Regions from separate parts of the Homo sapiens genome. Here regions 1, 3 and 4 are each linked to region 2. Evidence: promoter capture Hi-C in 16 types of primary human blood cells and fetal thymus (Javierre and others, 2016). All regions are on one chromosome and are shown on one strand. Each heading gives the region's core, a stretch centred on a gene start or on the middle of the fragment in contact. The rest is flanking DNA. Distances are from core to core; before and after follow the strand shown. Region 1 has its middle 42 kb from the start of CLDN23. Region 2 holds the start of PRAG1 (PEAK1 related, kinase-activating pseudokinase 1). Region 3 overlaps MFHAS1 (multifunctional ROCO family signaling regulator 1). Region 4 has its middle 47 kb from the start of CLDN23.

Region 1 (7,786 bases), core at 1,670-4,169, 270 kb after region 2:
CTAGTTCTACATCCATTTAACATATCTGCTTTTGATGGACTCCCAGATAAATGCATGAAACGTAAATATAAAGAGATCGTGTGTGTGTTTAATTTCCTGTCCTAATTGTCTTCCACTGCCTACACAGGCTGCCAAGTCTCTTATTTGCTGCCATTTGGGATGTGAGGTTTCTCCTCATCAATTCCTCTACAGTTCCTGTAAGAGCTCTGAGCCAGAGCTGGGCAGTTTGTTCAGAAAACTTTCTCTGAAATATTTTTAAAGAACTTCACAGAGCCCTTGTTATCTAATAGACAGGCCAAAACATTGACTCCAGGCATGTTTTCCTTTCTGTTTCATCAAAGGAAAATGAAGATGAAAAGCCTTTTTGTAAGTACTTATTCCCTATTAGGAAATTGTTTAAGTAAATCACTTTAGTCAAAAATGTTAGAGGCAGTCTGCCTAAGACAGAATATTTCAGTGGCTAACTTTAATAAATGCTAACTTACAAATTGAGCTCATTGGCCATAATTGCTTGCAACAGTAGGCACTAAACACAGAGATTAGCATAATTGTGATTATAACTCCCATTAGCATTTGTAATGTAATTATAGCCAAGTAACGTGCCAGGATGGAAAGATTCTACTAAAACTTCTCTCGCAAAGACACGAAAAGTGCATGCCCTTCCTCCAGGAGGTAGCATCACGGGGAGATGGCTCTGTGGTGAGGCCTTTAACCTCCCAGCATCTCACTTTTGCATCAGCAAAACATTTTGTGATTATTCAGTATACCTGGCAAGGATACACTGCTGGAAGAAAACTGTTTCTGCTTAAGATGGAGTCAGATTTTGACTTAAGGTGGACACATTTTGCCACCTGCCTGAAACCAGTATGAACACACACAAACAAGAACAGCAAAATGTATTAAATGACAGTTTGCAAGACGTTGGTTATCAGGCAATGAAGCACAGTGACCTCCAAGAGATGGGAAACAAATTAGTGGAGCCCTATTTTTGCCCCAGCTCACTGTCTTGAGACAGTTTCCAGACTGTGGCACAGGAAGGGAGAACCCAGGTAGAAGCTGGTGGACTCCTTTAGGCAAGAAGATGGAAATGAGAGTCCAGGGATAGCAAGGCAGCTGGAGTTTACAGGACAGAGAACCAGCAGAGATAGTTGTACAGAGAGAGAATCCTGGGATCTGGACGGGGTTCTGTCAATATTCACACAGTATTGATCGTGACAGCATGTGAAGATACTACTCAATGCCAGAGGGGCGAAAACATCTGAAAGGATCAGAGAAAAGCACACAGTGTTCACCAAGTGTCAAGACTATTAGCTGTTCCCTCCCACCAGCCAGCCAGGGAGAAAACACATTTTTGAACACTGGGCAGAATACTCATGAACATTCTGTCTTAGCGGTGGGAAATAATTAGCCGCAGACCAAACACTGCTCCAGATCCACCTCACAAATTATGAAATCTAAATCTGAAGGGCTCAAACTATACCCAAGCAACTTAATTGCATCCCAGAGAAAAGCTTAAGAACAGCTATAGGAAAGCAAAGTATCACGTATCCAAAAATGGTAGTAACCACAACGGGTGGTATCTGATAAGGATTATCAAACATAGAAAGTATAAGGAAAATATAACACATGATGGGGGAAATAATTCAAAACTGACTCGAAACTGACACAGATGTTATCATTAGTAGACGAGTACATTGAGCAATTATAACCATATTCCAGATATTCAAAAAGTTAAGTAGAGAAAAATGATTTAACAAAAATACTCTAATTGAACTTCTGTAAATAAAAAACTACAATATCAAAAATTTAAAAAATTGATGGGATTAATAGTAGATTAGACATAGCAAAAAAATAGATCTGTAAATTTGAAACCATGGCAATGGAAACTATCCAAAATAAAAACACTGAGAGGAAAAACAATTTTTTTTTTCTTTTTTTGACATAGAATCTCACTCTGTTGCCCAGGCTGGAGTAGAGTGGTGCAATCTTGGCTCACTGCAACCTCCGGCTCCCAGGTTCAAGCAATTATCCTGCCACAGCCTCCTGAGTAGCTGAGATTACAGGTGTGTGCCATCACACCTGGCTAATTTTTTTGTGTGTTTTTTTAGTAGAGATGGCGTTTTGCCATGTTGACCAGGCTGGTCTTGAACTCCTGAGCTCATGTGATCCACCTGCCTCGGCCTCCCAAAATCTGGGATTACATGTGTGAGCCACCACGCTTGTCTGGAAAAAAAATTTTTAATTAAAAGAGGATCAGTGAATTCTGAGACAACTTCAACTGGCCTAATACACGTGCAGTGGAGTTGCCAGAGGAGAGGAGAGGCAACTGAACAAATATTTGAAGAAATGACAGTTGAAAACATTGCAAACTTAATTGAAACTAAAAACTCACAGATCCAAGAAGTTCAACAAACCCCCAAGCAAAAGAAGCATGAAACAAAACACTAAGACATATCATAATCAAATTGTTAAAGAAATCAATAATAGACACAAAATATTAGAGCAGCCAGAGGAAAATAATAAGATGTTACATAAAGAGGAAACAAAAATAAAGATGAGAATAGATTTTTTTAATAGAAAACAATGTAAGCCAACAGACATCTTCAAAACATTGAAAGATAAAAACTATCAAGCTAGAATTTTACACCAAGCAAGAATATCTCTCAGAAACAAAGATGAAATGAAGATGTTTTCAAACATAGAAAAACTGAAAGAATTCACTAGCAAATCCACACTGCAAGACATTTTAGAGTCTTTTAGGCAGAAGGAAGTAAGGAGCTTCACAAAAAAGGAACACCAAAAATTGTAACTATATGTGATTTTTCTTATTAAATCTATTTACAAGATAACTGAATATTTAAACAAAAATAAGAACAATGTAGTTAAACTTCATACGTGTAAGTAAAATATATTACAGTGCTAGCAGAGCAACCAGGAGGGGGAAATAGAAATATTCTATTCTGTGATTCTTTTTATTTTATTTTATTTTATTTTTTTGAGATGGAGTCTCGCTCTGTCACCCAGGCTGGAGTGCAGTGGTGCGATCTCGGCTCACTGTAAGCTCCGCCTCCTGGGTTCACGCCATTATCCTGCCTCAGCCTCCTGGGTAGCTGGGACTACAGGCACCTGCCACCATGCCTGGCTAAATTTTTCTATTTTTAGTAGAGACAGGGTTTCACCATGTTAGCCAGGATGGTCTCGATCTGCTGACCTCAGCTCTGTCACCCAGGCTGCAGTGCAGTAGCACGATCTCGGATCTGCAACTTCCACCTCCTGGGTTCAAGTAATTCTCCTGCCTCAGCCTCCCAAGTAGCAGGGATAACAGGTGCCCCCCACCATGCCCAGCTAATTTTTTTTTGTATTTTTAGTAGAGATGGGGTTTCACTGTGTTGCCCGGACTGGTCTCAAACTCCTGACCTCGTGATCCACCCACCTTGACCTCCTAAAGTGCAGGGATTACAAGCATGAGCCACCACACCCAGCCTCTATTGTATGATTCTTACACATAAAGTGGTAGGTCAGACAAAAGAAGACAGTGAAAAATTAGAATTATATGCTCTCCACTATAAACTATATACACTATATTTTACTACTAAAATGACAAAAAGATTTATAGTTAGTAAGCCAATAATAAAAAAAAAATTATTTCAAGGATCAGTTAATTCAAAAGATGGCAAAAATAGAAAAAAGTGAGTAAAGAACAGATAGGACATCTAGAAAACAAACAGCAAGATGGCAGATTTAAACCTAATCATATCAATAATCACATTAAATGTAAATGAGCTAAACAATCTTGATTAACTGCAGAAATGGTCAGACTGGATTGAAAATCTAGACCGAAATAAATACTGTCTATAAGACATGCTCTTCTTGCTCTCCTGGCCCCCACCCACACTGGCACCAGGGAAAGGCCATGTAAGCACATAGTGAGAAGGTGGCTGTTGGCAAGCCAGGAAGAGAGCCCTCACCAGAACCCAAACATGCTGGCACCCTGATCTCAGACTTTCAGCCTCCAGAACTGTGAAAAAATAAATTTCTGTTGTTAAGTCAAAAGAAGAAGAAGAAGAGGAGAAGGAAATGTTCTTTATATATTAAAACATGGGTAAAGTAAAATAATTTAAAAATTATTTTTAATGATATACCATACTAATACTAATCAAAAGAAAATTGGAGTGGCAAATTAGTAACAGTGGCACACAATAACAGAGCTTCAAACTACATAAAGCAAAAATTGTTAGAACTACAAAGAGAACAAAATAAATCCAAAATTATACTTGGAGATTTCAATAATTAGCTCTCTGATTGACAGAAGTAAAAAGAAAGTCATCAAGCTTATCAAAGATTTGAAAGTCACTGTTAAGCAACTTGACATAATTGACGTTTATAAAACACTCCACCTAGCAACAGCAAAACACACAGTGTATTCAAAGACACACAGAGCATTTGCCAAGATAGACAATATTCTGGGCTATAAAACAAGTTACAATAAATTTGGAAGTGTTCATGTCATACTAAGTATGTTCTCTGACCACAATGGAAGTAAATTCAAATCGATTATGAAAAGATCTCTGGAAAATCCCAATTATTTGGATGATGGAAACTAAATAATACACAATTATATACTTGTAAATACTAAATGGATTAAAGAAGAAATCAAAAGAGAAATTAGAAAGTATTTTCAGTTAAATGAAAATGAACATATAGAAATTTTCAGGATGCTGTTAAAGCAGTTCTTAGGGTAAATGTGTAACACTATATGCCTACACTAGAAAGAAGAACGTTCTGAAATCAATTACCTCATCTTCAACCTTAAGAAACTAGAAAAAGTAAGACCAAATTAAATCCAAAGTTACAAGAGTGTTTGGACTTGCTCGTTAATAATAGCTTCTTTAATGTCCTTCTAGAATATTCTATTATCTGTGTCATCTAATCATTGGTGTCTGTTGATTTTCTTTTCCCATGCAAATGATACAGGAGCTAGAAATAAATTATTTAGGCAAATAGTGAGGGTAAAGAGTCTTCAGCAAGGCTTCCCTTCTAACAAAAAGTAGCCCAAGAAATTATTTTTTCTATCAAGGAGCAGCCTGAAAACTTAAGCTGCAAAGATAGATAATCAAGCTGGAAGCTTGCATGTGTGAATGCCAGCAGTGTACCAACAGAAAAGGGCTACCCGGGGGCCAGGCACATCCAACATGGAGGCTCCATCTTCCCTTCTCTTTATTACCAAGTGTACAGTAAAGAAACAGGCGACATGGCTGCAGCCAGGTAGAGAACCCATCCATAATACAAGATTAGGGTGGGAGAAGCCAGTTTTTCACACCCTATGCAAATGGCACACCTAGTCCTAACCAGCTTTTTTGTGCCTTATGCAAATGGCACACCTGGTCCGACCAATGTTTTGGGACCTGTATACATCAGACACTACCTCCTCAAGCTCTGCATTTCACCGTAGACTGGTGACCCGTTCAGGACCCCTATCTCTGCAGGAGAGAGCTCTTCTCTTTCTTTCACCTATTAAACTTCTGCTCTTAAGCTCACTCTTTATGTCTTAATGTCCTAGTTTTCTGTGGCTGTCAGACAACGAACCTCAGGTATTTACCCCAGACAACGATGCCACTTCACAATTAGAGGTTTTTTAATATCACAAGTAATTTTGGTTTGTATCCTGAACATTTTCAGTATTATGCTGGGTCTTGTTTCTATCTGCCAGTTCTATGGCTCTTAGAATTCTGGTGTTGTTCCCTGATTTCCTACTGTTATTTATTTTGCAGAGTTTTCAAATAGCTGTCATTGTACCCTGTCCAGGTTTCAGAGTTGGGCTTAGTGGGAGGTAGGCAGAATTCTAAGCTGGGTCCCAAGAGTCCTACCCCCTGGTTACATGTTCATTATGAGCCCCTTCCCTTGAATGTGAGCAGGATTTGTGGGTACAATGGAATACCACTCCCATAATTATTTTGCTTTATATGGCAGAAGAGATCTTGCAGATGTAATTAAGATCCCTAATCAGTTGACTTTGAATTAATAAAAAAAAGATTATTCTAGATGAACCTAATCTAATCGGATGAGCCTTTAAAAGGAGTCAGAGAATTTCAAAGCCAGATAGATGTCAGCCTTGAAGATGCAGCCTCTGTGAGTTCTCCAGTTGCAAGGAAATGGATTCTGCCAACAGCCACATGAGCTTGGAAGAGAACCCTGAGCCTCAAATGTGACCCCAATTGACACCTGATTGCAGACTTGTAAGAACTGGGGCAGAAAATCAAGCCAGCTGTGGTGGCTCACACCTATAATTCCAGCACTTTGGAAGGCCGAGGCAGGTGGATCACTTGAGGTCAGGAGTTCTAGACCAGCCTAGCCAACATGGCAAAACCCCATCTCTACTAAAAACAAAAATTAGCCAGGCGTGGTGCTGCATGCCTGTAATCCCAGTTACTTGGGAGGCTGAGGCAGGAGAATTGCTCGAACCTGGGAGGTGGAGGTTGCAGTAAGCTGGGATCGCACCACTGCACTCCAGCCTGGGTGACAGACCAAGACTCTATCTCAAAAAAAAAGCAATAAAAGAGAACTAAGGCAGAAAAGCCTGCCAGGACTTCTGACGTACAGAAACTGTGGCTCAAGCAATGATGTTGTATTAAACTTCTTCTTCTTCTTTTTTTTTTAAAAGACAGGATCTCTCTCTGTTTCACCCAGCCTGAAGTGCAGTGGTGCAATCTCAGCTCACTGCAACCTCCCAAGTTCAAGCGATTCTTCCACCTGGAGTAGCTGGGACCCCACCCCAACCAGCCATTTTTTGTATTTTTTGGTAGATGCAGGGTTTCACTCTTTTAGCTAGGCTGGTCTCGAACTACTGATCTCAAGTGATCCACCTGCCTTGGCCTCTCAAAGTGCTGGGATTACAGGTGTAAGCCACCTTGCCTGGCCAATCTTCTATGTTTATAGCAGTTTATTACACTGCAAAATTTAATAGACTTTATCCTACGTGAAACTGTGTCTTAAAAAAGAAATTCTAGGTACTCTATGTTTGAGCAAACGTTATCCTTTAAGTATTGATTAATACTCAATATGCTTTCTAACAAAGCTCTTTGTTGATTTTCCTTCCTCCGTATTCCCAATATAGAATTAGGGAAATAACTTAAAGATTCAGATCTCCTCAACATCAAATTTCCAGCAGTGTAGACTCTAGCAGCTCATCTTTGTGCAATTACAAGCTGCTTCATTACTTCTTTTCCTTTGCCCTCTTGGTTCATCAAGCTCACTGAGTTTTATGAAAGAAAAGCTAATCTTGCTATATAATTGCATTAATTATTGCCACATGAGCCACTCAGCAGGGACAAATAGCAAGCCTGGTATAATGAGTAAACTAGAAGAAGTAACCATTTATAGCCACTCATAGGATAGGCCAAGTCAAAGTTACCATGAAATGATAGGTTGTTTTCTCCAAAACATGACAGCTATCAAAAGAAAGTATAACTTTCATTTAAGATATGCAAGGTGGCCAGGCGTGGTGGCTCCTGCCTATAATCCTAGCACTTCTGGAGACCAAGGCAGGAGGATCACTTGAGCCTAGCAGTTCAAGGCCAGCCTCGGCAACATAGTGAGACCCTTGTCTCTACAAAAAATACAAAAATTAGCCAGGCATGGTGGCACATGCCTGTGGTCCTAGTTACTCGGGATGCTGAGGTGGGAGAATCACCTGAGCCAGGGAAGTTGAGACTGCAGTGAGCTGTGATCACAACACTGCACTCCAGCCTGGGCAACAAAGTGAGATTTTGTATATACATATATATAT
Region 2 (4,253 bases), core at 500-2,999:
AGATGGTGAGAAACACAAGTGGCACCCACAAAGCCTTGCCTCGCCTTGCCTGGTGCAGCAGTGCCAGCTCTCCACAGCATGGGGAAGGCACTTCGCAGCCCACATTCCTTACTTCTGAGGGGAGGCAGCCCCCAGAATTATGCAAATCCTCCCCATTTCAGTAGGAGGCTGCAGTGTCAGATTAGAAAAAAGAGCTCAGCATTCTTTCTGATCCAAGTCATGAAAAAAATGTCTTTGCCTCTGCAAACTTCTGCACTAGATTTGTGGCTACAGTTTGCAAGACTGAAGCTGTCAGATACACTCCCACCCCATTTCAAAAAAGAATCTGAAGAATCAAGGTGGCCAGATCTTTAAGATTAAATATTTTGGCCCAAAATACCCCCTCAGACTTACATCAGAAGTTGCTTATGCCTTATTCTGAAGTGACAGAATTGCAGAAAACATTCACCTAAAATTTTTTTCTGTATGTTACAGTTAAATTAATGCAACGCCAGTAAAAGGAAAGAAATATGTGTGGAAAGTGTCTGAACTTCAGCACACTCCACTGGCCAGGGCTGACCAGGCAGAAAGGAGAAAGTGACAACTTTACCACCCACTAGCCCCCTGCCTCCCTACTCACGCAGAGGGTAAATTACGATATTCACCCAACTTTTCCTTTTCTTTTTTCTTCCTCCAGTGCTGGAGGAAAGAAAATCTCAGAGGGAGGAATGTGGTTTTGCACCCACTACAGTCGAAACCAACCAGACCTCAGGAGAGAAAAATAACTGCGGAATTCCCTAGGGCTTTCTGTCAAATTTTCTTCTCAGAAAGGGAAGGGGAGAGGAGTTGTTAAGAATAGTTCAGGCCAGTGATCAGGAAAGCCTTCTGAGCCTGACTCCGCACTGAATGCATCGCCAAAACTCCTCGCCCCTAGACCATTGGGCTTTGCTATCGGCTCTGCAAAACCATGTGCAGGGAGAGCTTACCTGAGAGAAACGCACACACCGTGAGCTGGCGCTCTCCGCTGCGAATGCCCGGCCGCCTCCATGCCCAGCAGAGGATTCTATGTTCTAAGTGTGTGTGTCCCCGGATACCAGCAAAGGTTAATAACGTGCTCACAGCATGCGTTTCAGAGGGCTCAGCCAGGGCTCGGGGAAAAGGGCATCATCTCGTTGCCTCTGGAGCCCCGCTGCTGCATACCCTGCACCCCCAAACCATCCCCCCGGGTCCTGGTCCCAGCAGCCAGGCGGCCTTCCGTCTCTCCCCCTTGACAATACTCTAGCGGTGGAAAGCAGTCCTCAAAGCGCTTCAGCCTCCGGCCGCAGACAGAGCAGCAAGACCAGAGAAACCATCCTAACAGTCGGTCCTCCCTCCTGGAACTCGTAGGAAAGTTTCCCCGTTTTAAAGAGCGCGATTCTCGAATGAATCAAAAACACCCTCCAGCTCCTCGGTCCTCCCGGCCGGGCGCCTCCCTGCACCTCGGGCACCACCCGGGGCTCACGCGGCCCCGGCACTGCCCACTTCCCGAGCGGTCGCCTGTCACCCCGGGGGTAGCCCGCTCGGCGATCGCAGCGCCCCTCCAAAGCTCCCCTCTGCGACCACGCTCGCCAGACAAAAAGAGGCCGAATTTGGAGAGCGCGTCGCGGGCTCACCTCTGGGCTGCGCTCCCCCGGCCCCTCCGTCGGTCTCCGAGCCGCCAGCCGCCCGGCCGGAGCATTGTTCGCAGAAGGTCTGCGCGCGGTGCGTGCCCGGCCGCGGGCGGGTGGCTTCTGCCTGGGCCCGGCGGCCGGGTGGCAGCTGTGAGCGCGGCTCCGCCCCCTCCGCCTCCGGTGACGCCGCCCGCCCCAGCTCACGCCGCACCTCCGCAGTCCCTGCCGCCGCCCGGCCCCGCCTGGCCCGCGCGCCCCGCCGCCCGGCTTGCGCCTGCCGCTCCCACCCGGCGGTCTCCTACCCCCAGGGCCCCGACTCCTCCAAAGTCTCCAGGCCCCGGGACTCCCTCTCTTGCCCACCCTCCCGCCCCGGACCGGCAGGCTCCGCCCCCAGCCCCAGACTTGGCGCGGGCTGACCCCCGAGCCCAGCACCCGTTTGCACCCCCTCCTCGGTGGGGACCCTGCACAGCTCTGGAGGGGCGAGCTCTGGCGTTGCAATCCTCCTTTTGCCATCATGCGTGTATAGGTGCCCGGCATCACTTCATCCAGCCGGCCCTGCGGGACCCTGGGAAGAGAGGGAGAAGGAAGGGGAAACGAGGAAGTGTGGGGTCGGGAGTGGAATACAGGTCAGGGTCCGAGGCGGGCTCTGAAAGCCACGTGAGCACAGCGAGCCTCAGCTCTCCCTACCTCTGGGAAGAGGGTGGCGCCGGAGGGAGCAGGGCTGGAAGTCCCGGTGGCGGATTCCAGGTTCCGCTCAGTCCCTGGACTGCAGGATTCTGGCAAATTGCTTAACCTCTTTGAACTTTAGTTTTCTGGATGTAGAATGCAAGCGTTGCACTGCAGGGACCTGGCCTTCTACCATGCTGGGACATCCAAGTCTTCCGCAGGCCAGTAATACACCTGTGTTTACACCGTTTCCAGTGAGTCATTCACTGAGATAGAACGAGTTCGAGATAGTCCTCGGGCTAAAAAAATCTTTTCACTGGGAGTATAATAGCTTAAGACCCAGTCAGTCCTGTAGCTTGACCTGGGTGTTTACTCGGGGAGCCAGGGCTATGGTCACCTCCCAGGGCCATGCCGGGTGGGAAGAATTCAGTGAAATGGAATAGGAAGAGGACCCCCCTCCCCCACAAAACAATACCTGCGGCTTCTCTCGCCCTCTATCCCCTCCCCAGGAAGGCAGTTTATTTTGACTCCAGTGAAGGTCCTCTGCCAGTCAGCCTGCGAGCCCCCACCCACTGAGAGGAGGAAGATGGGCCCCCACCCCCACCCCCAGATCCCTGGCTCTCCTCTTTGCTGCTGTGGGTGTGGACAGAGAGGGAAGATGTGTATTTGAGGTTTGGCTTCTGTGTGAGGAAAGGGAAAAAAGGATCCAGGGAATTCTTCCTCATGTTCCAGTGACACCCATGCCTCCTAAGAGGACAGAATCTGGGGGAAGCTGTAGAGGGATGGGAGTGCAATGGACATTCCTTAAGGACCTACCCAGCGCTAAGCAATCCTATGAGGAGAGCATCATTATCCCCATTCTACAGATAAGAAAACTGAGGCTCGGGGGCCTCACAATTTGCTGGGGTTCCTCAGCTGAAAAGTGGTAGTACTAAGATTGGAACCAAAGGCTGTCTGGCTTCGCTGGTAGGCAAGTCTACTCTGCCACTCTGCCCTTGCCAAGTGCAGGTAGTCCAGCCCTATTTTTCTCTCTCCCCTAAGTGGAGAGAAATCATTTGAACAAATACTGGCCGTGCGCGGTGGCTCACACCTGTAATCCCAGCATTTTGGGAGGCCGAGGCTGGCAGATCACCTGAGGCCAGGAGTTCAAGAACAGCCTGGGCAATGTGGTATAACCTCATCTCTACTAAAAATACAAAAATTAGTCGAGTGTGGTGGTGGGCGCCTGTAATCCCGGCTACTCAGGAGGCTGAGGCAGGAGACTCACATGAGCCAGGGAGGTGGAGGTTGCAGTGAGCTGAGATCGCACCACTACACTCCAGCTTGGGTATCAGAGCAAGACCCTGTCTCAAAAAAAAAAAAAAAAAAAAAAGGAAGGGAAACTTTGGTTACACTTCATGAGCATCCAACAGAGCTGAAAGATCCAGACCCTACCAAGACTCAAGAGGGGAAGATGTTGATTAAACAGGTAGGTACAAAGTGGTCTGCAATGGAGAAATACAAAAGTGACTTCAGAAAGTGTGCAATTCATTTACACTGGGAGAGGGCAAACTAAGATGTTTGAGAAGTTCCTGGTTCTCAGGATTCAGGCTAAATGTTTCACTTCTTTCCTCTGTAAGAGAGACATTGACCTCACAGAATAAAGGCTGTGCTGAACACATAAAAGAAGCACTTACTTTTGCACTTTATTTTCTTCTCTTTACCTAACTTATTCTTTTTTTTTTTTTTCCTGGGATGGAGTTTCATCTTTCAATCAGGCTGGAGTGAAGTGGCAAGATCTTGTCTCACTGCAGCCTCCACTCCCCGGGTTCAAGCCATTCTCCTGCCTCAGCCTCCTGAGTAGCTGGGATTGCAGGCGGCCACCACCATGCCCTGCTAATTTTTCTATTTTTAGTAGAGACAGCATTTCACCATGTTGGGCCAGGCTGGTCTTGAACTCCTGACCTCAAGTTATCTGCC
Region 3 (6,755 bases), core at 4,256-6,755, 490 kb after region 2:
GGCTGGAGTGCAGTGGCGCAATCTCGGCTCACCAAAAGCTCCGCCTCCCGGGTTCATGCCATTCTCCTGCCTCAGCCTCCCAAGTAGCTGGGACTACAGGCACCCGCCACCACACCCGGCTAATTTTTTGTATTTTTACTAGAGACGGGGTTTCACCGTGTTAGGCAGGATTGTCTCGATCTCCTGACCTCGTGATGGGCCCACCTCGGCCTCCCAAAGTGCTGGGATTACAGGCGTGAGCCACCGTGCCTGGCCATAAATTGCTATACTTTTTTAGTAACAGGTTAAAAACCCTGGGATCTGAGGGAAAGACCAATTGTTTAACTCCATTCTTCATTCTCAACATGTGTTTCCTACCGCTAATAAATGGAACTCGAGTTTTTCCATGGCCCCACTCAGTTGGAAGAATCCTCTTTCTCGCCTGAACTTCTGTGGCACTCTGTCCAGACTGACTTTTATCATTTATTATAATAAGTGGTATAGCGCACAAACCTGATCCATTTTCTAGACCAAGTTCCCAACGCACAGGCTCTGAGGGGGATTCAGTTGAATCTCCCAGGTGCTTATTCCTTGCTGCAAGGCCTCTGGAAACTCCTGCTTTATGAATCTAGAATCAATGAATAAATATCCTGACAAATAGCTACTTACATGTAAACTCTAGATGTTATCTCATTTCTCTACACTGCATGAGCACTGTGTTGTATCTTTCGGCTAATAATATAGACAAACTAAGTTAATGATTATTCTTGCAAAGATGCAAAGATTTTTTTTAATCTAGTATGAACTAAAAGCCATAATTAATCACCGAGAAGGATAGCCTCAACTTTTTTAAACTGACTGTAAACTGATTACCTAGTGCCACTCGGCTAATACACTGGAACCAGCCCTTGGTAGACAGATGTGCCCTTCCAAACAGATATGCACAGTAGGCCTGGGCTCATCCCAATTTGGAGCTACTCCCAACTACTCGGATCTTTGCCTTGGATCAGCCCAACAAATGAGCATCTTATGGAAGATGAGGCCGCTCACAAACCCACAATGAAATACATGGCTTGGGCCCTCTCTAATGAATTACTCATGAGTCAGGCATGACACCTGAGTCTGGGAGGCTCCTCTCATAAAGTCGGTAGTAACCTTAACATAGAAAGAAGTTATAAATGACTATGCAACCTTACAACTGGCTTCCACCCATAGTCATCGCTACTTCATATGCAAACAGCACCTCTGATATCTCACTCAGATTCTAAAGAAATCTTTGCTAGGGGAAGAGAAAAAGGGAGAGGAAAAAAAAGACATTCTCTGCTGTGTTTTACATTTCTTAATCCTCTCTAGTTTCGTCTAGAGTTTAGAGAAAGTCAGTGAGAAAAAAGATTATGGGCATGTTCCTAACCATTTATTTCAATTTCCTTTATTATTAGGTGGAAAAGTAGTTAACAGCTATGCAAAGCAGGTGCAGAGAGGAGGAGGAGGAAGGCAAAAAGAGGGCCGCTTTTGAGGTGCATGAACCAAGAAGAGTCGCTGCCTGCTCTGTGCCATCATGCAGCTGTTAATGCCACAAGGCTGCTCTCCCACCCTCCCCAAAGTTGATAATGAAAAATCAAAGCACAAACAAAAGCAATGCACAGAACAGGATAGCAAAACCCGATCATCCTGCACCAACCACATCTCTTCAGTGCATCTGCTTTGACCTCTGCTTTTACAAGCACTACCACTGAAAATAAGCTAGAACAAAAGCTGATTCGTTATGCACAACCATAAAGAACTCCGGGGCACGCTACATACATAATTCATCATGCCAAGCACGCGACAATCAGCATCATTTATCTTTGCGGTATTTTAAAGCGGTGACAGGTTACTAGATATTTATAAAGTCTCTTATTTCTATGAGACCCTTCCAAATTTAAGAAATAAAGAACCTTATTCCTCTGCAAATGGCACTGCTTACAAACCTAAGACTATATATCTCCTGGAATTCACCTGGTATCCATCATAAGAGGGTGGCTACACGACCCTAATAAACCAATTAAGCTAGCAGCCGTTCCACATCAGTCCTGTTGAAATTAATCTTATCAAATCACTTCCGCTTTCTGTTTTTTAAAACATGCTGCAGTCTTCTTCCCGCTGTGGTTAAAATTTTTCTTGAAACATACACTTAAATCAGTCATGCTTTCTGTCTAATGGATGAGGAAACCGGAGCCTGGGAAGGTTCAAGAGCTCAGAGCTAGGAGGAGAGAGGCCCAGGACTCTGCCTCATTAACATCCAAGACTCAATTGCCTTCATCCCCAAGGACCTACCTGGGGGCCTCTATTGTTTATTATTGTCTGAATTACCTCTAAGTGGTCCCTCTGACTCCATTCTTACTCCATTGAAATCCATCTTCCACACTGCTGCCCTGAGTGTGCTGACAAAATGGAAATTTGACATTTCCCCATTTGACCCTTCAGTATTTTCCTCTCACCCTCTGAAAAAAACCATCAGGCTTTAATTTAGCTTAACACCCAGATGCCAGAAGTTCCTTCTGGTGAAAAAGTGTTAGCTAGTGAATAGATAGGCTAAAAGTTATTTACACGGGATATGTACAGTGGTTCAACCTGTAATCCCAGCACTTCGGGAGGACAAGATGCACAGATCACTTAAGCACAGGAGTTCAAGACCAGCCTAGGCAACATAGTGAGACCCTGTCTCTACAAAAAAAAAAAAAAAAAAAAAAAAATTAGCCAGACATGGTGGCACGCACCTACAGTCTCAGCTAACTCGGGAGGCTGCAGTGGAAGGATAGCTTGAGCCCAGGAAGTTGAGGCTGTGGTAAGCTGAAATCGCGCCACCTCACTCCAGCCTAAATGACAGAGCAAGACTCTGTCTCCCAGGAAAACAAAAAAGGTTTAAAAAGAAAACAAAAATATTTACAGACGTGCATTGATAAATGAATAGTTGGGCTGCCAGTAATTTGTACAGCCCATCACACGTCAGGGGCCCTGGTTTTACAGAAAGTCCCTACGACTCACCTCCCCTGGAGACCTCCCATCCATCTAACCACCCCACACACACACACGTGGATCAAGACAGATTCCATCCCGCAGGCCTCTCCGAGCCCCTGGAGATCTTTTTCTCCTGGAATTTATTACACAGCCCTGCAAATCTCTGCTTACTGTCCACACTGCTTCCCTGGACTGCAGCTTCCCGGGGTCAAGGCCTTGCTCCCCTCCCATGCCCCATGCTCTGCCCCATGGCTGGTCACTGCCAATCCCCAGCAAATGTTTATAGTCCAGTACTGCAATGTTAAAAGCAACCATGTGCATTTCACACAAGGAGTCCTTACTTTTTTTCTTTTTTTGGTGACAGGAGCGTCACTCTGTTGCCCAGGCTGGAGTGCAATGGTGCAATCTCAGCTCATTGCAACCTCTGCCTCCGGGGGTTATTCTGCTTTTCATTCAAATAACTACCCATTTTTAATGGGTGACAAGCTATTGCCTTCCTGAGAAGCAGCACAGGGTGACAGCAAAGACCATAGGTTCCTGAGGACAACCTGGGCTCTGCTACATGCTGTGTGCCCCTGGCCATATGACTTAGCCCTCCTCTGTCTCCACTCCTCATCTGTAAACCAGGATGATGGTAATCAGAGCTAATGTTTACTGAGCCCTTATTATATGGTAAAAACTACTTGCAGCTGGGCGTGATGGCTCACACCTGTAATCCCAGCACTCTGGGAGGCCGAGGGGGCTGGATCACTTGAGGTCGGGAGTTTGAGACCACCCTCGCCAACTTGGTGAAACCCAGTTTCTACTAAAAATACAAAAATTAGCTGGGCATGGTGGCACATGCCTGTAATCCCTGCTACTCATGACAATGAGGCACAAGAATCATTTGAACCAGGGAGGTGGAGGTTGCAGTGAGCCAAGATCACTCCACTGCACTCCAGCCTGGGCAACAGAGTGATCACAAACACGCAAACAAAGAAAAAACTACTTGGGGACTTGACATCTATTCATTCATTTCCCCCTCACAACATCTAAGGAGACTCTGATAGCAGGTGTAAATGCTTGGGAACTGTTAGAATTATTTTTACCTATTTACAGACGAAATTGAGGCCCAGGGAGGCCAAGTGGCTTCCCAGAGGTCCAGGCCCCCGACTTCCTAATCCACTGATTTAATTACATCCAAGGCTCAGATGCATGGGCTCAGATGTATGAATGGCATTCAAGAAGTGCCTGGGAGAGGTTAACATACTGCTGATAAAAGATGCAAGGCCTCTTTCTCTAATGCTGGTTTAATATAAAGCAAGTAAGCTGCATGGCAATATTCATCTCTAGCTACAGCTAAGGTGACACTTGTTCTGTCACCCTACCTAGGAAACCGTATCAACTCCCTGAGATGAAAATCTGCCCCATTCCAGAAATGAGCTAAATCAAAGGAGGGAGAAGGAAGGAAGAGGAGGCTAAGGCAAAAAGTTATTCACACTTTGCATAAACATGCCCGGATGGCAAGCATTATAAAACGATCTGTGTAACATAAGCTTCTGGGTCCATGGGAGGCAAGGGAGCATGTGACTGTGCACGGATATGAACAAAGCCAGCGACACACCACCAGATTCTTCAAAAGCAAATATTTGTCTATGACCAAAGAATCGGGATTCTTTTCTAACAAAGAGGAATGTACACCGTTCTAATTCCTGATTCTTCCTCCTGCTTTACAGTGGGTTATGATCTCGATGGAAATCCCCCCATGAATAAATGTGTCTGCAATCACAAATGGCCCCATAAATCAGAAGATTTATGAACTGTAAAAGGGGACGGCAGGAGGATTCCAACCTTGCAGCTTCCTTCATGCGGACCACCTGGGGCCGGATGCATGGCAGTTTATCACTTCCTGGAAACAGTCATCTGGCTTTTCTTTTTAGCTAAGCAAGAAAATGTTATCAGCCCTGGTAATCAACAAGATGCAATCATCCCTGCTATTTGGGTAAGCTTTTAATGCCGCACCACATTACACAGAGGAGGCTCAGATGCATAGGCTCGGATGCATGAACAGCATTCAAGAAGTGTCTGGGAGAGGTTAACACACAGCTGATAAGCTCTGGCTGGCTGCAGTGAGGCCTGGCCCAACAGCCCCTAAGGCAAATTCCTGAAGGGACTAAATAGAAAATGAGTGGATATTCCCTATTCCAAGGGAAAAAATAAAAATAAAAAAAAAGATGGGAACAATACAGTAACCAGGGAAAAGCACAGAGCATGCACATGTGTGTTTTTCTTGGGGAGGGGGAAATGCATATATTTCAGAGGCTTAACAAATACATTCAAAAGAACACCTGCTCCATCCCAGACAGGCAGCAGAACATCGTGCAAGAGTGAGACGGAGACAACCGGGCAGTGCCACTCGTGAGCCATCTGGGAGTGAGGGGTGTCAGGGAAGGGGACAGATGCACCCTACAGGGCTTTGCATCCCAGTTCTTATTACTGTACCTTGGGCACAAAACAGCCCAGCTCTAGGCAAGCCAGTGAGCCATTTTTGGTATCATAGTGTTCTTTTGGAAAATTCACATTTCTATTTTTAGTTCTTCCACATGCAATTCATAAGCAATAGCCCTCCGGAATCAAAGTCACCTCAGCTATGCCATGAGTCAAGAGAATCCCAGTGAATATATTTTTTAATAGCATGTTCAGGGAAAATGTGACCAGCTCTGTTCGGCCATACTGTCTGCATTGACTTGGCAGTTAGCATGAAATGAAGGATTTTAAAGACCAAACACTTCAATGAGTCCTGTGAAAAAAACTCCCAAGAACCTGACTGGGGACTTTGTTAGCTTGAAATAAATATATACGTCATTAAGTATGTTTTAAACACAGAAGCAACTATAACAGGATTTAATTGCTTACTTTTTTTTTTTTTTTTTACAGGTCAAACACATTTTAGAGTGCTGGGTTACACCCACTCTTTCTTCATCACATGTACAGAAAGGCAAAGAGTGTGGGTAATCTCTTAAATTTTAAATTCCCACTTGGTATGAGGATAAAACATCCAAGAAACATTTCCTGTGCAGAACACACCAAGCTTAGGTGTAGAAAATACAACGGTGTGGAACTCGAGAGGATGGTTCTAGGATACAAATAAAAACAACCACGCAGCGCGGGAAGATTTTTGTTTAGAAAACAGATGGGACAGAAAGGCAGATGCAATGTTTTGAGTCAATGAGATACAGTTCGTTCTTAATTATATTTCATTGATTTCTTACATGGACAGAACATCATTCTTGCTGCCACTGTTTTATTTTGATCAGCGGTATATCTATCTGTAAACATGTACAATTTGTAATTATTGCTATGTCTAAACACTGCATCACGTGTAATGGCTGAATTAAGCTGTGAAATGCGTAATTATGCTGAAAACAATGGTGTTCCAATACACATCACCAAAGCCAATTTAAAAAAATTACCTTGTTTCAAATCACAAAGCGAAGCCTTCATAACCCTCGAGGCTTTTTTTAGGTCCCACCACTTTGATTTAGAGATTTGTCTTTTTCTAATTGCATCTCAAGAGTGTTCCGAGCACAGAGAGGGATTATTAACCCTGAAGGAAATAAAACTGAGTATTTCTTACACCTCTGGAAGGTGGAGAACGTACTTAGTTTAACAATCTGGAAAGGATCAAAGGTCTGCCGGTATAGGTGTGACTGAACAATACATCCATTGGTAGACTACTATGCTATATTTGTAGGATATACTATAACATTCTACACACACACACACACACACACACA
Region 4 (7,182 bases), core at 2,425-4,924, 360 kb after region 2:
GCAGTGAGCTGAGATGGCACCACTGCACTCCAGCCTGGATAACAGAGCGAAACTCCATCTCCAAAAAAAAAGTAATTGCGGTTTTTGTCATTAAAATTGTGAAAACTGCAATTACTATTGCACCAACCTAATAACTCAATGTCATCAAGAAACCCACAAGAACAGCCACAAGTTTCTTTAGAGATGATTCTCAAGATTTCTCCAAGAGTAGAGTGAGATGCCAGATCCAAAAATACAAGGAGTACGTGAGAGTCTACCTACCTTTCTCCACCCAGCCTCTTCCTCCGCCCGGGTCCGTCACACCTGCACCCAAGCTTACACTCTCCCAACAGGAAACGGGGGCATGCATCCTTCTCTGGGGATATTAACACTTAGAGGTTGCCCAATAAAGCAGCGCAGTCGCTTCCCAACCCTGTTATAGTAAAGACCACTAGACACAAGCCTCATGAGATACACAACCTACAATCAGCTCAAAAATATGCCTCGCTCATAAATGGCTGGGCCAAACTTGCCAGGCATTTGGGGAAAACAAGATCTAAAATAAAAGTAAAGTGAAAGAGGCTGGGCACGGTGCCTCACACCTGTAATCCCAACACTTTAAGAGGCTGTGGGTGGATCATTTGAGATCAGGAGTTCGAGACCAGCCTAGACAACATGGGGAAACCCCGTCTCTACTAAAAATAGAAAAATTAGCTGGACGTGGTAGTGCTACACCTGTAGTCCCAGCTACCAGGGAGGCTGAGGCAGGAGAATCACTTGAACCTGGGAAGCAGAGGTTGCAGTGAGCTGAGATTATGCCACTACACTCCAGCCTAGGCAACAGATCAAGACTTCATCTCAAAAAAAAAAAAAAAAGTAAAGAGAAAAAGACCAAAACAGACTAATGGAAACCAGAAATTCAGAGAAACAGAGACAACACAGGGAGCATAAGAGAGTTCCATAGAAACTATGACTGTTTGAGAAATAAGCAAACACAAGACATCTATAAAACAAGAACAGTATCACCTTAAAATAAAAATCAAAGAACAAGAAAAGCTTTGACAATTAAAAGTCTGACACAACTTTTCTTAAAAAATCAATAAAAGTATTCAAAAATAGAGTTTTAAAAATCTTTTCAGATAGGTTTTTTTCAACGTTTGTTTTAGACTCAGGGAGTTCAAGTGCAGATTTGTTACTTGGATGTATTGTGTGATGCTGAGGTTTGAGGTATGAATGATCCCATCACCCAGGTAGTGGACGTAGTATCCAATAGGTCATTTCTCAGGCCTTGCCCCACTCCCTTCTTCCTCTCCTCTAGTAGTCCCCACTGTCTGTTGTTCCCATATTTATGTTCACGAGTACTCAATGTTTAGCTTCCACTTATAAGTGAAAACACGTGGTAATTGGTTTTCTGTTCTTGCATTAATTCGCTTAGGATAATGGCCTCCAGCTGCATCCATATTTCTAAAAAGGACATGATTTTTTCTTCTTTATGGGCTGTGTAGTATTCCATGGTGTACATGTACCATATTTTCTTTATCCGATCTACTGTTGTTGGGCACCTCTGTTGATTCTATGTCTTTGCTATTATGAATAGCACTGTGATGAACGTGCACCTGCATGTGTCTCTTTGGTAGAATCATTTGTTTTCTTTTGAATATTTACCCAGTAATGGGATTGCTGGGTCAAATGGTCCGGATAGTTTTTGAAAAGGACAATAGGAGGGGCCGGGTGCGGTGGCTCACACCTGTAATCCCAGCACTTTGGGAGGCCAAGGCAGGTGGATCACCTGAGGTCAGGAGCTCAAGACCAGCCTAGCCAACATGGGGAAACCCCGTCTCTACTAAAATACAAAAATTAGCCGGGCATGGTGGTGCACACCTGTAATCCCAGCTACCTGGGAGGCTGAGGCAGGAGAATTGTTTGAACCTGGGAGGTGGAGGTTGCAGTGAGCCAAGATCATGCTATTGCACTCCAGCCTGTGCGACAGAGCGAGACTCTGTCTCAAGAAAAAAAAAAAAAAAAAGACAACAGGAGGGCGAAGGTAGGTAAATTAGAAGATCATTTGCAGGTGTGTGAAAGTTGTCAGAATCAAAATTCAGTCACATGTTTAAAATTCTAACAAATAGAGCCAGGGAAGGTCATAAAAGGAGAATCCTCATTAAAAACATATCGCATTTTTTGGTAAACTTTATATGCAGAATTATATATATTAGTTAGAATTTTTAACTCTTAATAACTTTAATTTCTACTGAAAACCTAGGAAATAAGATGTTTTTTAGTGTCTGTCACATATCAATATGTTGCAGATGTGAACCATTTTATCATTTCAAAAAGCATTTCCCCAAAACATAATTTTTGTGTGTATTAATAAACCCAAATATATTTAGTCTTTATATAAAATTCAAGAAGCCAAGAACAAACATATATTTATGTTCAGCAATTTATGTTTCAGTATTTTAACTTACTTAGAAATGACTCAGACATTTTGTGAATATCTATTACCTAATTTAACATAACCTGAAAATTTCACAAGTTTATTTATAAATGTTTATCACATTGCATTTTCCTAATGTATTTATTTTTAACAATTTACCTAGATTATCATAGCCAAACTATCAATCAAGTGTGAGGCTAGACTGAAGACCATCTGTGACCTCAGGCAAGGGTCATAACGTGTCTGCACTTCCTGTTCCTCCATACAAAAGCAATGAAGATGGTAGCACCGCCTTGCCCATCTCAGAGGATCCTTATCAAGATGAAATAAAGCATAACTTCCATCCATAGAGTACTAATTCCCTTGTAAGTCATAAGCTCCTCTGGGGCAGTGTCTAATTATGATTTATCTTTGGACTCTCTAAATTACCCAGACCAGTGACTTACACATAGTAAATATCAATAAATACTCTTTGAATGAATACATAAGATTTGTAGAGCAACTTTCTAAAAGTTGAAAGATACAGCACTTTATATATAACCATAAAAATTTAGAAACCTAATATATATATACATATAAATAATACTGCCTTCTAGAAAAATAAAGTATGACATGGCCATGTAGTAAAATCTTGTGTATTCATTAGACTGAGTTGTTGTTGTTGTTGTTTTGACCAGGGAAATTGTTCATGATGTAATGCTGCAGTGTTTAAGGTGGGTTGTAGATCAGTGAGAAGTGACATTCCCCCTCAGAAATACACACATTCCCATACACCTGCTATATTTCCCAATTGAATTCGGCGAAGAGAGAGAAATTAACAGAAACAAGGAGGCTCCCAGAGAGTGGGTGAGAGACCCGGAGAGGTTTGTCCTGGCTCCTGACTTGCCTATAGTACTCAAGGGACTGGTGTCATTCTCTGTCCAGGTAGGTCCTCGTCAATGTTGAGAAAACAGCTAAACCCTTGTAGTGCAACAACCCTTTTAGACTCAGGCAGGCATTGCCAATCTGGAATAATATACGCTGGTAATCCATGTGCTTCCATTTGAGGTAGTATTGGAAAGCATCAGCCTCTCCTTGTTCCTGAACCTGCCTCACAATCTACAAGGCCACCTCCCCTTCCAGGTAGAAAGCAGAGGCTGTGTCTAGATGGCCCTGAATGACAGCTCTGCCTGCTATTCTCCATTGTCCTAGAAAGCCCACGTCCCCACCGTCCACCCCTCTCTGATTTCATCCTCTGTTTCCCAGATGAATCTCAAACTGTGTTAGTTTGAGACCTAATGTTACAAATCCATGTAGTCTATGATCTCAAATATTCAAAAATATGGAAGAATCACTGAGGCAGTAGCATCAACTGAGCCCAGGAGCTTGAGGCTGAGAGTGGGAGGACAAAAGGGCAGGTGGGGAGAGAAGACCCAACCTGGTGGCCCTGCAGCGCCTCTGTGGATGGATTTTACAAAACAGTACAAAGGGAAGCTGAGGGTCAATAAATGAATGCCCTGAAAACCACCTGGCAAGAAACCCTTGTAAAGTTTCTCTGTAACCTCAGGGTGATATAGGCCCCAGTTTAAAATCTATTCATTCAGAACTCCAGGACTGCAGGTTCTTGCTAAGCATCCAGCCTGCTGACAAAAGCACTGTTTAGGCAAGATGCCAGCGGGACTTGGGAGCAACCCACCTCTAAAGGACGATGCTTTTCAAAATGGGTTCCCTAGATCACCTGCATCAAATATTATCTGAGTGTTTATTCAATATGTTTAACATGAAGATTCCTAGGCTCTGTCTCAAACCAGCTGAAAAGGAATCTTTAGGAAGAGGGACATGTGAAACTGTTTGTTGAAGCAACCTACAGCAACGTATGGGCTTTTTGTTGTTGTTGTTGTTGTTTAGACGGGGTCTCACTCTGTTGCCCAGGCTGGAGTGCAGTGGCCCCTCATCATCACACCCACAGCATTCTGCTTTGTCTAAGGCTTCCAAATGTATTCCCTAGTTTCCACCACACCACGGTAGCCCCTCAAGCTCCGGGCTGGATCTATGTCTAATTCATCATTGTGTCCACATCCTAGCCACATGACTAGCACATAGCTGTGCTCAATAGATACTTGTTGTATGAATAAATTCATAGTAAGTAGAAGATACAAAAATGAAGAAGGTGGCTGGGTGCAGTGGCTCATGCCATAATCCTAGCATTTTGGGAGGCTGAGGCGGGAGGATCGCTTGAGTTGAGGAGTTCAAGACCAGCCTGGGCAACATGGCAAAACCCCGTCTCTACAAAAAATAAAATAAAATAAAATAAATGAAGAAGGGAAGAATGTTTGAGGAACTCCCAAATATAGGATTAGTGCTCAGTTACTAATACACTAAGGAGCAGATTATTGGTATGGATCAGCGCAACCAAAAGGTAACCTCCAAATCATTGCTATCTGACTATCATCTATCTATTATCTATATATATATATATGTAATCTATATATGTGTATATATAATCTATATATGTATGTAATTTATATATATCTATATATAATCTTAAAATTATGTAGTGATAGAAAGGGCAGGCTTATGCGATGGCGGATGGGATTATGCCTTCGGCTTTTGGAACTATCGAATATCAATGTGGAAGACTTGAAGACCTGTTTGCTGAAGACCCTCTAAGCCTCTTAGAAAACAGTGACAAGAGCTTTGGGACATTTGCTAGGACACCGGATATTCTGGCATTTATGAACCAAGCCTGGGGATGCTCTCTACTGCTGTGGAGTTGGGGTGGTTTCAGCGGAGGACAACAAGGCTGCTAATTTGTTACTCAACTGCCCTTTGGCCCAACGCCTGGGAATTTATCCTAAAGGCCTCAGTAAAGGAGATTGTCAGTTAAAGAGTCCAATTACCCACGAGAAGCCTTATTAGTAACTGAACTTGCTCCTGGGCAAAGAATGCTGACCATCTCGGGGAGAAGAACCCTAAAGCCTGAATTCAAGACAGCAGCAGGGAATACAGCAACTGTCAGTTACAGCCACCAGGTGGCGCAGCAGAAAGCCAAACTCTCAGGAGCGCAAGGCAAACCCACATCCTGGTTCTTCTCCCCTAAGAAATTTGGTAGCCTCAGAAATTCGTCTGGAGAAGGGCTTAGAGGCAGACACCATTGAAACGGTAACCCAAGACCTTAATTTCACCCTTGCCTCAGTTTTACCCTTAAAATTACACCCAGAAAATGAACTGATAGGACTCGCTCTTGAGAGCCAATTGCTAAATTTTTAGCCCATCTTTTCTCAACCTCATGGTCAGTGACACCAAGTTGGTAACGTGAAATTGGCCAGGAAGGAATATTTACACCATGGAAATTGGCAAATGCTATAAATCAGTTCTTCAGAGGGTTGGTTGTTAAACATTTACCCAACACTCCTGGGTGAGAAGGAGAGACCGCCCATAAATTGTGCTGGGAGGCAAAAGAGGAAAGTTTGGCAATTTGCTTCTGATAATAACTCGGACAAAGTCAAATGTAGCAGCTAAAAACTTGGACTCTGTATTCAGGATTTAGGACTTAAATCTGTTGTTTAAGATTAAGCTCTGCCATTTATTAGCTGTGTAGAGTTGGGCAATCAACTCTTGGTGCCCATCTCTTCATCTGTAAAAAAGATATAATTGTACCTACTTAGTAAGGCTACTGTATAAGTCACCTTAAAATAACTATATGTGTTAGATATTACTATTACTAAAAGGTGATGAAATTATTAATACCATTAATTCAGAAATCATTACGATGTAAACAACAGAGACACACTTGAATTTTAAGACCTTAAAGCTATTTACCAATCTCGTTATATTTTTATATTTAATTTCAGATCCTGATTTAAATTTATTTTCTGTAAAGTGACTAAACACATTGGTTGGTTTTAATCCAGAATAATAAGCTTTTTACTATCATAAATTCTCTTTTGAATGTTTGGGAAGTAAATTATATATTTCCAGGGTTTTGCTCTAAAGGCTTTTTATTCTCTTTCTTTAAATATTTTGTAAATATCAGAAAGTCAGTTGGGTTTCCCAAAGAGTATGCCATTTAACATGAGTATGTCTCAAGTTGAGTCAAACAGAGGTTGCTCAGAAATTGGGTTAATAGAAACTCCAAGTCTCATTCCTCTAATGAGGGGCTAAGGGTTTTTCTCCATGTTTTGGATGGTGGCAGCCTTTGAGAATAAATAGATGAAATGATCTCTCATAGCGACAGAAGGAAAGTAGAACAATCTAGAACAACTAGACATGTGACTTTCTCTGAAACCACAAAGTAAATAAAAGACTCAGCTTTATGTTTTAAGGAGCTTCATCAATTAGGTCTGGATTTTGATTGATAAAAAATTCAGGGTGTCTGCTTACATAAAATTGTGAGACTTTTCTAGAAGTTTTGGAGAAAGTTGGGTTGCGACCTACCCTCTGACATCCTGACATTAAGAGTCACCTGGCCTGAGGCCAGAGGAATGAATACTCAGTGACCCACCTATGTCACTTCTAACTGGCAGAAATTAGAAAGCTGTGAAACTAATTGGTCAAAGAGGCTGTCAAACTCATTGCATCATCTATACTTTAAAGTCCAGAACTGCAGCGCTTTCTGCTCACTCCAGCCGCTTACCTTTTTGACTCACTTATTGTATTTTAATGAGCCAATCAGACTCGTATGTATTGATTTCCTGTTATTTCTACCCAATACTATGAGATGTGCTGTTGAAAAATTTATTTTAAAAACTACAACCACAGGGAAAAGAATACTTTTTCAAGGCACA

Evidence for each region. Contacts are between HindIII fragments. The CHiCAGO score rates a contact against its expected background, and 5 or more counts as called.
Region 1: a contact is called between a fragment that was not itself captured here and the fragment with the promoter of PRAG1 in region 2, in 15 of 17 cell types (M2 macrophages, M0 macrophages, endothelial precursors and 12 more). The highest score is 31.3, in M2 macrophages.
Region 3: a fragment that was not itself captured here is called in contact with the fragment with the promoter of PRAG1 in region 2 in 1 of 17 cell types (M0 macrophages); the score reaches 5.1 in M0 macrophages.
Region 4: a contact is called between a fragment that was not itself captured here and the fragment with the promoter of PRAG1 in region 2, in 4 of 17 cell types (M1 macrophages, M2 macrophages, M0 macrophages and 1 more). The highest score is 8.4, in M1 macrophages.

The regions. Positions count from the first base shown.
Region 1 is chr8:8,655,915-8,663,700 of GRCh38, forward strand. No RefSeq gene overlaps it. Among named protein-coding and RNA genes, the nearest start is that of CLDN23, 42 kb to the right of the region's middle. The HindIII fragment of the contact is 2,820 bases long and covers 1,510-4,329 here.
Region 2 is chr8:8,384,690-8,388,942 of GRCh38, forward strand. It overlaps PRAG1 (PEAK1 related, kinase-activating pseudokinase 1), which reads right to left and starts at 1,750. Exons shown (of 6, transcript NM_001080826.3): 1 at 1,632-1,750. RefSeq lists a silencer at 1,453-2,132. The HindIII fragment of the contact is 9,968 bases long and covers 1-4,253 here.
Region 3 is chr8:8,867,602-8,874,356 of GRCh38, forward strand. The region is part of intron 1 of MFHAS1 (multifunctional ROCO family signaling regulator 1); the gene reads right to left. Among named protein-coding and RNA genes, the nearest start is that of MFHAS1, 23 kb to the right of the region's middle. RefSeq lists a silencer at 878-1,172. The HindIII fragment of the contact is 1,084 bases long and covers 4,964-6,047 here.
Region 4 is chr8:8,745,467-8,752,648 of GRCh38, forward strand. No RefSeq gene overlaps it. Among named protein-coding and RNA genes, the nearest start is that of CLDN23, 47 kb to the left of the region's middle. The HindIII fragment of the contact is 5,283 bases long and covers 1,034-6,316 here.